Regions from separate parts of the Homo sapiens genome. Here regions 2, 3 and 4 are each linked to region 1. Evidence: promoter capture Hi-C in human tissues and cell types (Jung and others, 2019). All regions are on one chromosome and are shown on one strand. Each heading gives the region's core, a stretch centred on a gene start or on the middle of the fragment in contact. The rest is flanking DNA. Distances are from core to core; before and after follow the strand shown.

Region 1 (2,810 bases), core at 208-2,707:
GCCTGGCTGGGGGCTGGCCCATGAGAAGGTCATTCAAAGGGTTGGTTTTCCCTTCCTCTCCCCCAGCTGTCCTCATGCAGGGTTGAGCCCGGCAGGGCCACTTCCCTTTGCCAGCCACCTGGTACTTTGTTGTGTTGAATTAACATTGATTGAGTTCTTGTCTGCCGGTCACTGTTCTAGGCACTGGGGATTAGGGACTCAGTGATCAAAAAATAAATCCTGCCCTGATATTCTCATGAGGAGGACAGAAACTTAGTTAAACATACAGAATGTTGGAAGATGAAAAGTGTGATGAAGAAAACAGTGAAGTGGCTTGAGAGGGACAGGCCTGGGGGGCTGGGAAGGAGGCGGCGAGGGGTTGCAATGTTAATAACGTGGTCAGGGAAGGCCTCACAGAGACGGTGACCTTTGTGTAAAGACCAGAAGGGAGTGGGGGAGTGAGACGTGCAGGTCTCTAGGGAGGGGCCCAGGTGGGAACAGCAAGTGCCAAGGTCCTGTGGCGGCCAGGTGCCTGGGCCAGCGAGGGTCCCAGGTTCTGGAGTGGAGCAGGGTGAGTAGCAGGAGATGGGGTGGGAGTAACTTGGGAGCCAGCTCACGCAGGGCCTTGTGGGCTGCTGTGTGCGTTTTGGCTTTTGTTCTGAAGAAAATGGGAGCCAGTGCAGGCTCTGAGTGGAGGAGGGAGGAGGTGTGAGTGAGCTTGTGCGAAACAAGATGGAGGTGGTGGCTGGAGAAGGCCCTCTGTCTGTCCACTGGTCAGGTGCTGGGAGAGAGGCAGCTCCAGAGACTGCGGAGTGAGGTCGGGTATGGGCTGGGGCACAGCTGGACAGGTGCCCTCAGGGGACCTCCTGTGAACTAGATGAGGAACAGAGACCTGGGTTCTGCCAGCTCTGCGGCTGAGTTGCTGGATCGTTTTTGCTCATTCTGTGCCTTTGTGCCTTATGTCTTCAGCTATAAACTGGGAACGACAGTCCCAGTGCTGTTGTGAAGACCTCAGGAACTGAGCGAACAACTGTGGGAGCCCCAGAGGTTAAGAGGTTATCACGGAAGGCTTCCTGGAGGAGGGAACCCTTAAGCTTTGAAGTCCAGATAGAACTCAGCCTAGTGGAGGGAATGTGGGTGAGGCTGGTGGAATATGGGAGAGCATCCCGGAGGAAACCTGTGAGCAAAAGCTGGGGGCTGGGTGAAGCAGGACACCAAAGTAATGGGTGTTGAATGGGCCGAGCTGACAGCTCTCTGGGGGAGTGGACGGTGCTGGAGGACACTCCCTTCCACCGGGCACGGAGGGTTTGTTGTGACTTCCTCCCACCGCAGCAGCTGGCAGAGCCGGGGCTGCCCTTTCTGCTGGTGCCTCCTTTCAGCCGCCTCTGTCTGGGGTTCCCTTCGTCTGGCCCCGCCCCTCGGGCTAAGCGGGGCGGGGCCAGGCGGTCCCGGAGGCTGCGGCAGGCCGGACAGCGGGAGCAGGTGGAGGACTGGCGGCGGTCGAGATCGTGCTGCCATGGCTCAGCCTCTGGGTCCAGAGCCTCAGCTCCTACCTCTTCCCTCCTTGCCAGCCCCTGATGCCTGCCAGACTTTTGCCTCTGCTGGAGCCCCTGCCTGACCAGCTTCCCCTCCCTGTCTGGTTGGGATTTGGGGGCTGAGCTGTCTGGGGTCCCAGGGCCAACCAATGCAGTGCCGGCTCCCGCGGGGCCTGGCTGGAGCCCTCCTCACCCTCCTGTGCATGGGGCTCCTGTGTCTGCGGTACCACTTGAACCTGTCCCCGCAGCGGGTACAAGGGACCCCCGAGCTGAGCCAGCCGAACCCGGGGCCCCCTAAGCTACAGCTACACGATGTCTTCATTGCAGTGAAGACGACCCGGGCTTTCCACCGCTTGCGCCTGGAGCTGCTGCTTGACACGTGGGTTTCCAGGACCAGGGAACAGGTGACAAGTGGGTGACATTGGGCCCTGGGGGTGGCCCCTGGCCTAAGGGGTTCTCAGAGGCCTTTCTACTGGGCTGGGGTCCCTGACTGCCTCATGGGAGAAGCTGCTCAATACCTGCCTAATCAGGGATCCTCTTCCTCTCTCCTTCTTCCGGGCTTTAGGGGCTGCCTGCGGCCCTGCCCGTGCCCTGTACTGGTCCTGACTCCAGGTGCACCCAGGTCCTACCGCTCCACCACTTTTGGGGGCCAGGCTGGGCCCCTGCTCCAGGCTCCCGGGTCCCTCCTGGGGGTTCTTCTATTCCTAGCCGCTCCCGTGGGGGCTTCGCTCCTAGCCACCCAGGCCCAGCCTGGCATCAGGGGTAATGGTGGGTGTTGGGCAGCTGGGGTGGAGGCCTCCAAGAGGTCCTGACCCAGACCCGTGCCCAGGCCAGGCTGTCCCACCCAGGCCCTAGGTGCTGTCCTGCCCGGGCTCTGAGGGTGGAGGACGGGAGGAGAATGGTGGGGTCTGTTCTTGGGGGAGGCATCCCTTCGGCCTTCCCGATAGCCCCTGCCGCTGTGTCTCTGCTGCCCCGGGTGTGCCGAGGCCGCCATGTCTGGCCTCCTGTGTTGGCTTCCTGCGGACTGCTTCCGAGGGAGGGAAGGAGAGCGCATGCCACGAGGGTGGCGGCTGAGGCAGTGGTGGGCCGGAGGTTGGGGAGGCCTGCCTGGCACGTGGGATTGTGTGTGTGTGTGTGTGTGTGCTCACACGCACGGAGCTGGAGTGTGCTAGATGTGTGTGACAAGAGGCATGTCTGTCACATGGCTGTGCGGCTCCGGCGAGCCAAGTCCCTTCCAGCCCTTTCCCTCCTCGCATCCAGTATCTTCCTTAAGCAAAGTTAGTGATGTCGGTGTTA
Region 2 (2,810 bases), core at 117-2,616, 960 kb after region 1:
ACAGAAGTTTTTTTTTTTTTTTTTAATTAGCCAGGCAGCCGGACGCAGTGGCTCACGCCTGTAATCCTAGCACTTTGGGAGGCCGAGGTGGGTAGATCACCTGAGGTCAGGAGTTCGAGACCAGCCTGGTCAGCAAGGTGAAACCCCGTCTCTACTAAAAGGAAAATTAGCCGGGCATGTTGGTACACGCCTGCAATCCCAGCTACTCGGGAGACTGAAGCAGGAGAATCACCTGAACCTGGGATGCGGAGGTTGCAGTGAACTGAGATAGCGCCACTGCACTCCACTCCAGCCTGGAAGACAGAGCAAGACTCCGTCTAAAAAAAAAAATTAGCCAGGCATGGTGGCATGCACCTGTAGCCTCAGCTGCTCCGCACGCTGAGGCGAGAGGACCACTTTAGACCAGGAGTTAAAGACCAGCCCGGGCAACATAGTGAGACGCTGTCTCTACAAAATTTTTAAAAATCATTAGCTGGCCGGGTACGGTGACTCATGCCTGTAACCCTAGCCCCAGTGGGTGGACTGTTGAGCTCAGGAGTTTGAGACCAGCCTGAGCAACATAGCAAAACCCCATCTCTACCAAAAATACAAAAATTAGGCAGGCGTGGTTGTGCGTGCCTGTGTACACCAACGACTCGGGAGGCTGAACTGGGAGGATCGCTTGTACCTGAGAAGTCGAGGGTGCAATAAGCCGTGATCCTGCCACTACATTTCAGCCTGGGCGACAGAGCGAAACCCTGTCTCAAAAAATAAATAAAAATAAATAAAAACACTGTTCCAGAAATCCCTGTCCTACAATTAAGTTTGAGAACTGCGGAAGTATGGTTTGAACTCTGGCGGTTAGAACCCTAAACTAACAGTCTGATCTAGGCAGGTCACTTGGCACTTCTGAGCCTCAGTTTCCACAACTATAAAGGCGGAGGAGTAACAATAAGGACCGCCTAAGACACCGACGGACCTCCCCTGCGCTGAGTTTCACATTAAGCAGGCAGGTAGAACAGGCGGGGAGTCGCGGGTGACGGTGGGATACATGGGGGCTGAGGCGCGCCGCGAAGCATTGTGGGACACAGAAGGGCGCCAGTCGCTCCCCGCCTCGAGCTTCGATTGCGCGGCCGCCAAGTTTCAGTGATGAACGCCCTCTTTGGGCGTCCCCGGATACCGCCTGACGTAGTGCCAATCACACCTCTCGCGTCTCGGCGCCTCGGAGGCTAATGAGGACGCCTGGCGAAACGCAGTAACGGATTTCCGGGTGGACCTTCGCTTTACGGCTCGTGAGTTCTTCCGCCCAACCCAGAGGAAGCGGGAGAGCAGTTTACGACAGCGCCGGTCGTGTTTACGGCGGCGCCCGCTGCGCGCGCATGTTTCCTCTTTTCCTGGTTTCTCAAGAGTGCTGCTGCTAACGCGGTCCCCGGCACGCACCATCTGTTGCCATCCCGGCCGGCCGAGGCCATTGCAGGTGAGCGGCGTGTTTCATAGGTTCCTGCGGCCCTCCGGAGCCGGTTCGGACTAGGTCCAGCCTTCGGGGGGCCTCCCGGAAGAGACCTCTCTTAGTCCCTTCCTGCTGTTGCCGTCCCTCCGCTGGGCGGGGCAGGAATCCACTTTCGGGGGCCCCGCGTCCCGCACGCTACTGAACGCGGGACACGACCTTGTGGGTGAGGTCCTTGGCCCTCGGCCCTGCTCAGTGCCCATGAGCTGGGTGAATTTGATTGTCACTTAACTCACCTGGGTTAAGACGGAGGGGTAACAACAAAGTCTTTCTGAAGTGGCCGAAAACTCCCTGACTTTTTGAGTGAGGTCTTAGGGGTACCAGGCTGAGCGGTGTTTGGCCCCTGTTCTTAGGAATTCACAGTGCATAGGTTATCTTTCCTTTTTTGTGAAACTGGAGGCTAGGATAGAGAAGTAGATTTGATCTCTGATCTTAAATCTACCCCACCCCCTGTTCAGCGATGGACGGCTTATGATCTGTAGTGGCCTGCCAACCACAGAGCCCCTTCTGAGTGCCCTCTTGGAACCTCCCTATCCTGCCCCTGTGACTAGTACAGCTGTTACTTCGTTTTTGCTGAGCGGCTCAGTTTCTCCTCCTGGTTCCGCTCTGCTCTTAAAAAAAAAAACATTTATTAAAGCCAGGGTATCTCATCCCTGGCTTTCCAGGGAGGTGATGCAGGTCGAGCCTCGGGCCTCTTCCCTTCTTGAGCTTCTGACAGAACCCGATTTTTTAAAGTGTGTTTTGAGACTCGTTGTCTTGGTATTATGATGTACGGTCTCAAACCCCTGATCTTTGCGGGCTGCTGCCCAGCTGTAATATAATGGAAAGAAGGCTGGACTGACAGCAGGCAACCCTGGAAATCAAATCTGTTTTGAAATGATGAGGTCAGCTGCTTGAGTAGGCTGAGCTTCAAATTTTTGCCTCTAAAGTAGGGGTGGGGGGGTGGTCAATGGTGTTAAATTATCTGGTATAGGGCCTAACACGTAGGAGCTCAGCAATATTTATTTAATACAAATTGTTCTGAGACCACCACCCTTTTTCTTCTGTCCTCTTCCTATAGTTTCTATTAGAAAGATGAAACTTCTAGGTTCATCCTGTGTTGCTGTCACCCAAATGTCATCTCTGAAGGAAGCCTCAATCTCCCCAGCATGGGGCTTTGAGGAGAGTTTACTAAGTTCAGCATACCTGTTCTTTTGATTGCTCTCCAGCCTCCAAGAAACATTTGATTTTTGTTTTTTTGAGACGGAGTCTTGCTCTGTTGCCCAGGCTGGAGTGTAATGGCAGGATCTTGGCTCACTGCAACCTCCGCCTCCTGAGTAGCTGG
Region 3 (2,810 bases), core at 86-2,585, 670 kb after region 1:
ATGTTGACAGCGATGTCAGGGAACTTGAGTTACTGGGCAGCTGGACAGCTGCTCTCCCTGGTCCCCACCACCCAGGGCCACCACAGCCCAAGGCCCTGCCTACCTGCCAATACCTTAAGTTGCAGTCCCCAGGTCCCACTACATGGGACCACTGACGTCATCAACACATCAGAAGGAGACAGAAGCCCAGAGAAGGTCACAACCCAAGGTCACACTGGGACTTAGTGCAGCCCAGGATCTAGAACCCAGGCCTCCTGACTCCCTGTCCAGCGCTCACACACTCTAGAAGCAGCTGGTTGCAGCTTGAAACCTTGGGAACCATGGGGAAGAACACAACGGGTCTCTGGCTGCATACAGATAGGCACCGTGACATTTTTCCAGAGGTGAAGTTCAGACCCCTACACCTGCTTAGGTTGTCTAGAAAGTGTGGTCTGAAGGTGCTACCCTTCTTCCAAACACATATGGGGCTTTCTGGGAGGGAGCATAGCAATTCCAAGCGGACTCTCCCACCCTACTCTGCCCAAAAAAGGTTTATAGGAGTAGGGGGAGTCTGGACCCATGATGCCAGGACCCAGGAGACCAGGAAAGCAAGTAGTTAGTAGAGATCTGAGAAGTGTTCTTCGAAAAATCAAGCCAGCAAAAAAATAAAAAATAAAAGTAAAACATCAAATCAGGTTTTAGAATATGCATCCCTGGCCAGATGTGGGATGGGGCACCCGAAGTGGGCCCCAGCAGCTCCTGCCTGTCCCTGTCCCTGTCCCTGCCACCTCCTCCCTGCGTCGGGTGGGTCAGGTTTCAGGACCTCAGCGCTCAGATTTTGCAGCATAAATTTGCATCCAGGACAGACCAGAGCAGAGGCTGAGGTAGGAGTGGAGAGAGAAAGGGAGCAGGGCCTAGGAGGTCCTGAGGTGCAGGCTGGCCGCTGAAGGTTCAGGATCTTCCCCCACGCGGCAGGACATCCGCCAAGGTTCCCAGATCTGAGACGGCGCACCTCCTGCGTGTCCTTGACGGCAGGTGGACTTTCCAGACCCAGCTGGTGACGCCAGTGCCCCCTAAATCCCAGAGGTGGCCCCTTCCCTCGTGCCCTGGCCGCAGCCCCTGGGATCCCGCGGACCCCTGGCCTGGCGGTGCAGGAGTGGTAGCAGGTCCGCGCGCCTTCTTGCCGGCGGCCGGCGCTGCTCAGCGGCGCGGCTGGACTGAGCCGCTCCCGCTGCGCTCAGAGTCCGGGCCCCTGGCGCCATGCCAGGCCCGGCGGGCGTGCGCCCGGCGCGCAGCACTGCAGCGCTGGTCATATGAGCAGAAATGATGAGAAAAGCACTTTTTAATCTTTTCGCACTTGCTCTGCCCGCTCAAACAGTTGCAGGATGTCGATGACAGACTTGCTGAACGCTGAGGACATCAAGAAGGCGGTGGGAGCCTTTAGCGGTGAGCAAGCGCGCTCCCCTCCCCATCCCTCTCCCCTCGTCCACCGCCCGCGCCCCTGCACTCCGCCGGCCCCGCAGCCGGCGGATCCTCCCCAGCGCGCTTCTGCCCACACTTCCCGCTGGGCGCCGGCGAGGTCGGGGCGGGGGCGTCCTTGGCAGTTCCCAAACTCTGTCCGGGCGAGGCTTGGCGCGGGGAGCGGGCGGGGAAGAGGGCGCCCCGCCTAAGTTACAGAAACTTGAGGGTGCTGAAGGCCCGGTGGCTGGGAGGACTCAGGGTCCGGGACCAAGGGCGAAGACCAGGGTCGGAGGAGAGACCTCCAGGGTCCTTGTACGAGCTCTCTGGACGTCCTCTTTAAGGCACTTAGAGGGGACTGCAGGGGGCATCCTCCTCTCCAAGAGACCCCTTTCCTGGACCCTCATTCTGGACAGGACTTTTCCCGCCAGGCGGTAGCCTTTGTTGGCCCCCTGACTGTCCTAGTTCCTTTACTGAGATTCAGCAACGGACCTGCGGGCGAGGTGACCTTCTGGAGCCGGCGCACAGCTCTGCCTAAGCCCGCACGGGGCATCCTCAGTGCCTCAAACCTCCAGCCTCCTTAGGCGGGCAGGGGAGGGGAACTGGCAGTCTCACCTCTCCCAGCTGCCCGGGACTTCAGCGCTAAGCTGCCCGCCTTCCTCCTCCCCTGTCCTCCAGATGGGGAAATCAGGGAACTGTCTTGGAGAGGACAAGACATTTGCCCAAGGTCACCTAGCTGGGCAGAAGGGGTATTAGAACTGGGTTGCCCAGCCTAGTGTCGGAGGTGGACAGGGCAACTTTCCTTGTCTCTAGCCCTGTGCTGAGGGGAAGAGAACATGACTTCAACAGCCATTCCCTACACACACACACACACACACACACACACAAAATACATGATCTAACATTGTACCCTTCCCCAGGTGTTCTAAAACAGGACCCCAAGATACAGAAAATTGCAGGTAGAAAAGGACCCCCATTTCCTTTCTGCTTTGCACCCCCTCCCCTGGGCACAAGAACCTCTCTGGGAAGCCACCCTCCCAGGGTCCTGGGATAACCCTCTCCCTTCACCTCAAGCCCATGTGGGAAGAAACTTAACTGGGTGTTTCTCGGGAGCCTCCTAACACCCCCTTCCCACTGCCTCCGAAGTGGATTTCTGCGCAGAGCCAGGACTTCCGGGTTTGCCCCTCCTCCTCCCACTGTATGACCTTGAGGGAAACCTGTCCTTTCTATGTCAATTTTCTGGCAACAAAGTCTGTGGCCAAGAAAGAAGGTCAACCCTCCTCCCCCTAACCCCAGGACCATGTTCATGCCCCCTTCAATTCCCCAGCCCACTCCCAACCAGCTGGCACTCAAAAGTCTTCCTGGGCACAAGG
Region 4 (2,810 bases), core at 1-2,500, 630 kb after region 1:
TGTTCCCCGCGTAGGCACACACCAGCCTGGCCTGTCTCTGGTGACCCCCTGAGTGGCCTCCACGTAGGTAACAGAGGTCACCTGCTGTTCCAATCCAGGGGGTGCAGGGGCCAGGCTTTGCGTCCTCAGGGCCCCCGCAGCTTAGAGCTCAGACCTGGCTACTGAGGAAAAATTCTGAAAATGCTTCCCAAGCGACGAGGCTAGATGCTGGTGAGGCCGTGCTCCAAGCCCCAACCTTGCCAGTCACTCTCTGTGACCCTGAGTAAGTCTCTTATCCTCCCTGGGCCTCAGATTTCCAATCTGTACAATGGCAAGGTTGGACTAGAAGAATCTAAGACCTTTTCCGTCTCAAAGATCCACCCATTCATTCATTCATTTATTCATTCATTCAGCAACATTTATTGAGCCCTTGGTCCTGGTGCTCAATAGGGATGAGCTACCTCCTAGTGATACAGCAGCGATCAAAACGGACACAGCCTCGTGGAGCTTGCTTCTCATGGGGGAGCCAACGTTCAAGAAAAAATAATAAATGAGCATATAATATTATTCCTGTAATATAAGAACCAGGCAGAAAAGGGAAATAGGGCAAAGGGTCAGACAGCAATGAGGTAGGGGCTGTCAGGAAGGCTTCTTGGAGGAGGTGACATTTGAGGCAAGCCCTGATTAGCGGAAGAACAAGCCAGATTCTGTGAATTCTGTTTGCGCAGAAGATGGAAAGTCATTGCTGATCACCATGTGAAGCAAAGGGCCCCAGCCTGGGACCCAGGACACCTGCATTCCTCTCCAGACACTGCCGGTCACTCGTTGTGTGACCGTGGGCAAGTCACTCCCACTCTTGGAGCCTCAGTGTTCTCATTTGTGTCTGAGGGTGGTGAGCCACAGCTCAAAGTTTCGTTAAAGCAGTTCTGAGAGGTTGCATTTCTGAGTATTTGGGTTCTGACTCAACCCCAGCCTCTCATGTTGATCAGGGACTGCAGAAGGACTGGCCTTTGTCCCTAAGGCCTATGAGGAGCAGTGAGAAGGCCCGGGGGCGGCCACACCCCGGCACTCACCTCTCGGCCCGCAGCTGCTGGGCCACAGCCATGGTGGGCGATGGTCCCAGGGAGCAGGTGGAGAGTCTCGCCCAGCCAGTCCCAGGCTGAGTTCACCTCTCACTTCCTCCAGCCACCCTGCGTCTCGTCTCAGCCTGTGGTCCTGGGAGTCCCCAGGAGCTGCCTTTGGGGAGGCTCAGGCCTGCTTCTCTCCAGTCTGGCAGAGGCTCCTCCTCCAGGCTCTCTGGGCCTAGCCTGTGGCCCACACTTCCTCTTACCTCACCTCCCAGCTGCACAGAAATTGAGGAAGTGGACCCTCGGGTGCCAGGTTTGCAGGAATCCACTTCCTTGATGTCAGTCCTTGGCGCCAAGCCTCAGTTGGGTATCAGAAGCCTTGCTCCATCAGAGATGGGGTCCCAGCCATCAGGGTGTCTTGTGACCTTGAGGAGTCACTTATCCTCTGGCCCATCAAGCCCCACCTTTATTCTCTTACTGCCAAGCCTTTGCCCAAACTCTTCCCCAGGCCTAGAATGCTGGCCTCCATTTTCCTGTGATCTCTTAGGCCCAGAGTAAATGCCACCTCCTCCAGGAAGCCCTCCTGGTTCCTCTGGCCTCTGTCTTCCTAGAGTGTGAAGTTTGGTTTGCGCGCCCTGGCACTCTGGGATATCCTTTCCTCATCCTTAGATCTCCATGCCCAGCCAATCCTCTTTCACAGGGCTGCCAATCAGAGTGAGTTTCACCCTCCCTGCTTAAACTCTCCTGCCCCATCACCCTGTGCTCAGGATAAAGTCCAGAGTCCTTGCCCTGCCTGCCTCCAATGCCCCTGAGGCCCTGCAGCCTTCCCCAGCCTCTGCTCCTGAGCTCCCTTTTTCTCACTGGCCTCCTTTCCGTTTCTAGAATGTTCTAAGACGTCCGCCCCAAGGCCTATGCTCATGGTGTTCCCTCTGCTGGAAAAAGCTCTTCACTGCCTCCTTTGCATCTCAGCTTAGAAGCTACATCTTTAGCGAGGCCTTCCCTGACCACACACCCTAAATTAAGGCCCTCCCTACTACATTCTCTCACAGGTCCCTGCACGTCTACTGCAGAGCACTCATAACTATTGTCATCTCACATTTGTTTGTTTATCTGTATGTTTAATGACTGCCTCCTTGGCTAGCAGCGTGCCTGGCACATTGCAAGTGCTCAACCAATATTCAGTGAATGAATGAAACGCTGCCAGTCAGTGACTGCAGCTCCTAACAGGTATGGGTATTTGATTCTGAAGGGACTTCTCTGAGAAGAGGTCCACAGGAGTCATTGGCACAGCCACACCCAGTAACTCCCTGCCAGCTACACACGCTCACACACTCGTATTCATACATGCAGAGCAGAAAGTTGTTTTAAACTACTTTAAACATACAAGTCCCAGCTAAAAAAAACAAGAAAGCATAATTTTTAGGTAGGATCAAAGAGAGGGGTCAGGAATCTATACCAGGGGGAGAGGAACGTGGCCAACAGCCCATGGGAAAACCAAGATTGGATATGCATTGTTGGGCTGAGATTTTAATGCCAAATCTGGGACTAGGTACAGGCCACAGGTCCTGCTGTTAGCAGAAAGTCAAATCTGAGTTCTCAGTGTAAAGTGGGTGTCAGAACTGATTATGGGAACAGAGTTTCTCAGCCATCAGCCTAGAGTCACGGCAGGAGCTGAGGTCCTCTCACAGTCCATGGGTGGAACAAGGGACGTGTGTACCAGATCAGCCTCAAGCCTGCCCTCTGCACTGGTGTAAGGCCCCGATA

The links. The method cuts DNA at HindIII sites, captures the fragments that hold promoters and counts their contacts. A contact is called where the count stands out against the background at its distance.
Region 2: the fragment with the promoter of EIF3D here is called in contact with the fragment with the promoter of MFNG in region 1 in 2 of the 25 tissues and cell types used here (lymphoblastoid cells and mesendoderm cells).
Region 3: the fragment with the promoter of PVALB here is called in contact with the fragment with the promoter of MFNG in region 1 in 2 of the 25 tissues and cell types used here (dorsolateral prefrontal cortex and spleen).
Region 4: the fragment with the promoter of NCF4 here is called in contact with the fragment with the promoter of MFNG in region 1 in 1 of the 25 tissues and cell types used here (spleen).

The regions. Positions count from the first base shown.
Region 1 is chr22:37,485,031-37,487,840 of GRCh38, reverse strand. MFNG (MFNG O-fucosylpeptide 3-beta-N-acetylglucosaminyltransferase) reads left to right here and starts at 1,457. Exons shown (of 8, transcript NM_002405.4): 1 at 1,457-1,918. The coding sequence starts at 1,664. RefSeq lists enhancers at 55-564, 565-1,076, 1,077-1,586, 2,063-2,112, 2,513-2,572 and a silencer at 1,363-1,492. The HindIII fragment of the contact is 15,221 bases long and covers 1-2,810 here.
Region 2 is chr22:36,527,722-36,530,531 of GRCh38, reverse strand. It overlaps EIF3D (eukaryotic translation initiation factor 3 subunit D), which reads left to right and starts at 1,366. Exons shown (of 15, transcript NM_003753.4): 1 at 1,366-1,456. RefSeq lists enhancers at 1,096-1,495, 1,806-1,855. The HindIII fragment of the contact is 12,569 bases long and covers 1-2,810 here.
Region 3 is chr22:36,815,560-36,818,369 of GRCh38, reverse strand. It overlaps PVALB (parvalbumin), which reads left to right and starts at 1,335. Exons shown (of 4, transcript NM_001315532.2): 1 at 1,335-1,425. The coding sequence starts at 1,365. The HindIII fragment of the contact is 41,984 bases long and covers 1-2,810 here.
Region 4 is chr22:36,859,446-36,862,255 of GRCh38, reverse strand. It overlaps NCF4 (neutrophil cytosolic factor 4), which reads right to left and starts at 1,250. Exons shown (of 10, transcript NM_000631.5): 1 at 1,053-1,250. The coding sequence starts at 1,084. All of the region lies in intron 1 of NCF4-AS1 (NCF4 antisense RNA 1), which reads left to right. The HindIII fragment of the contact is 13,239 bases long and covers 1-2,810 here.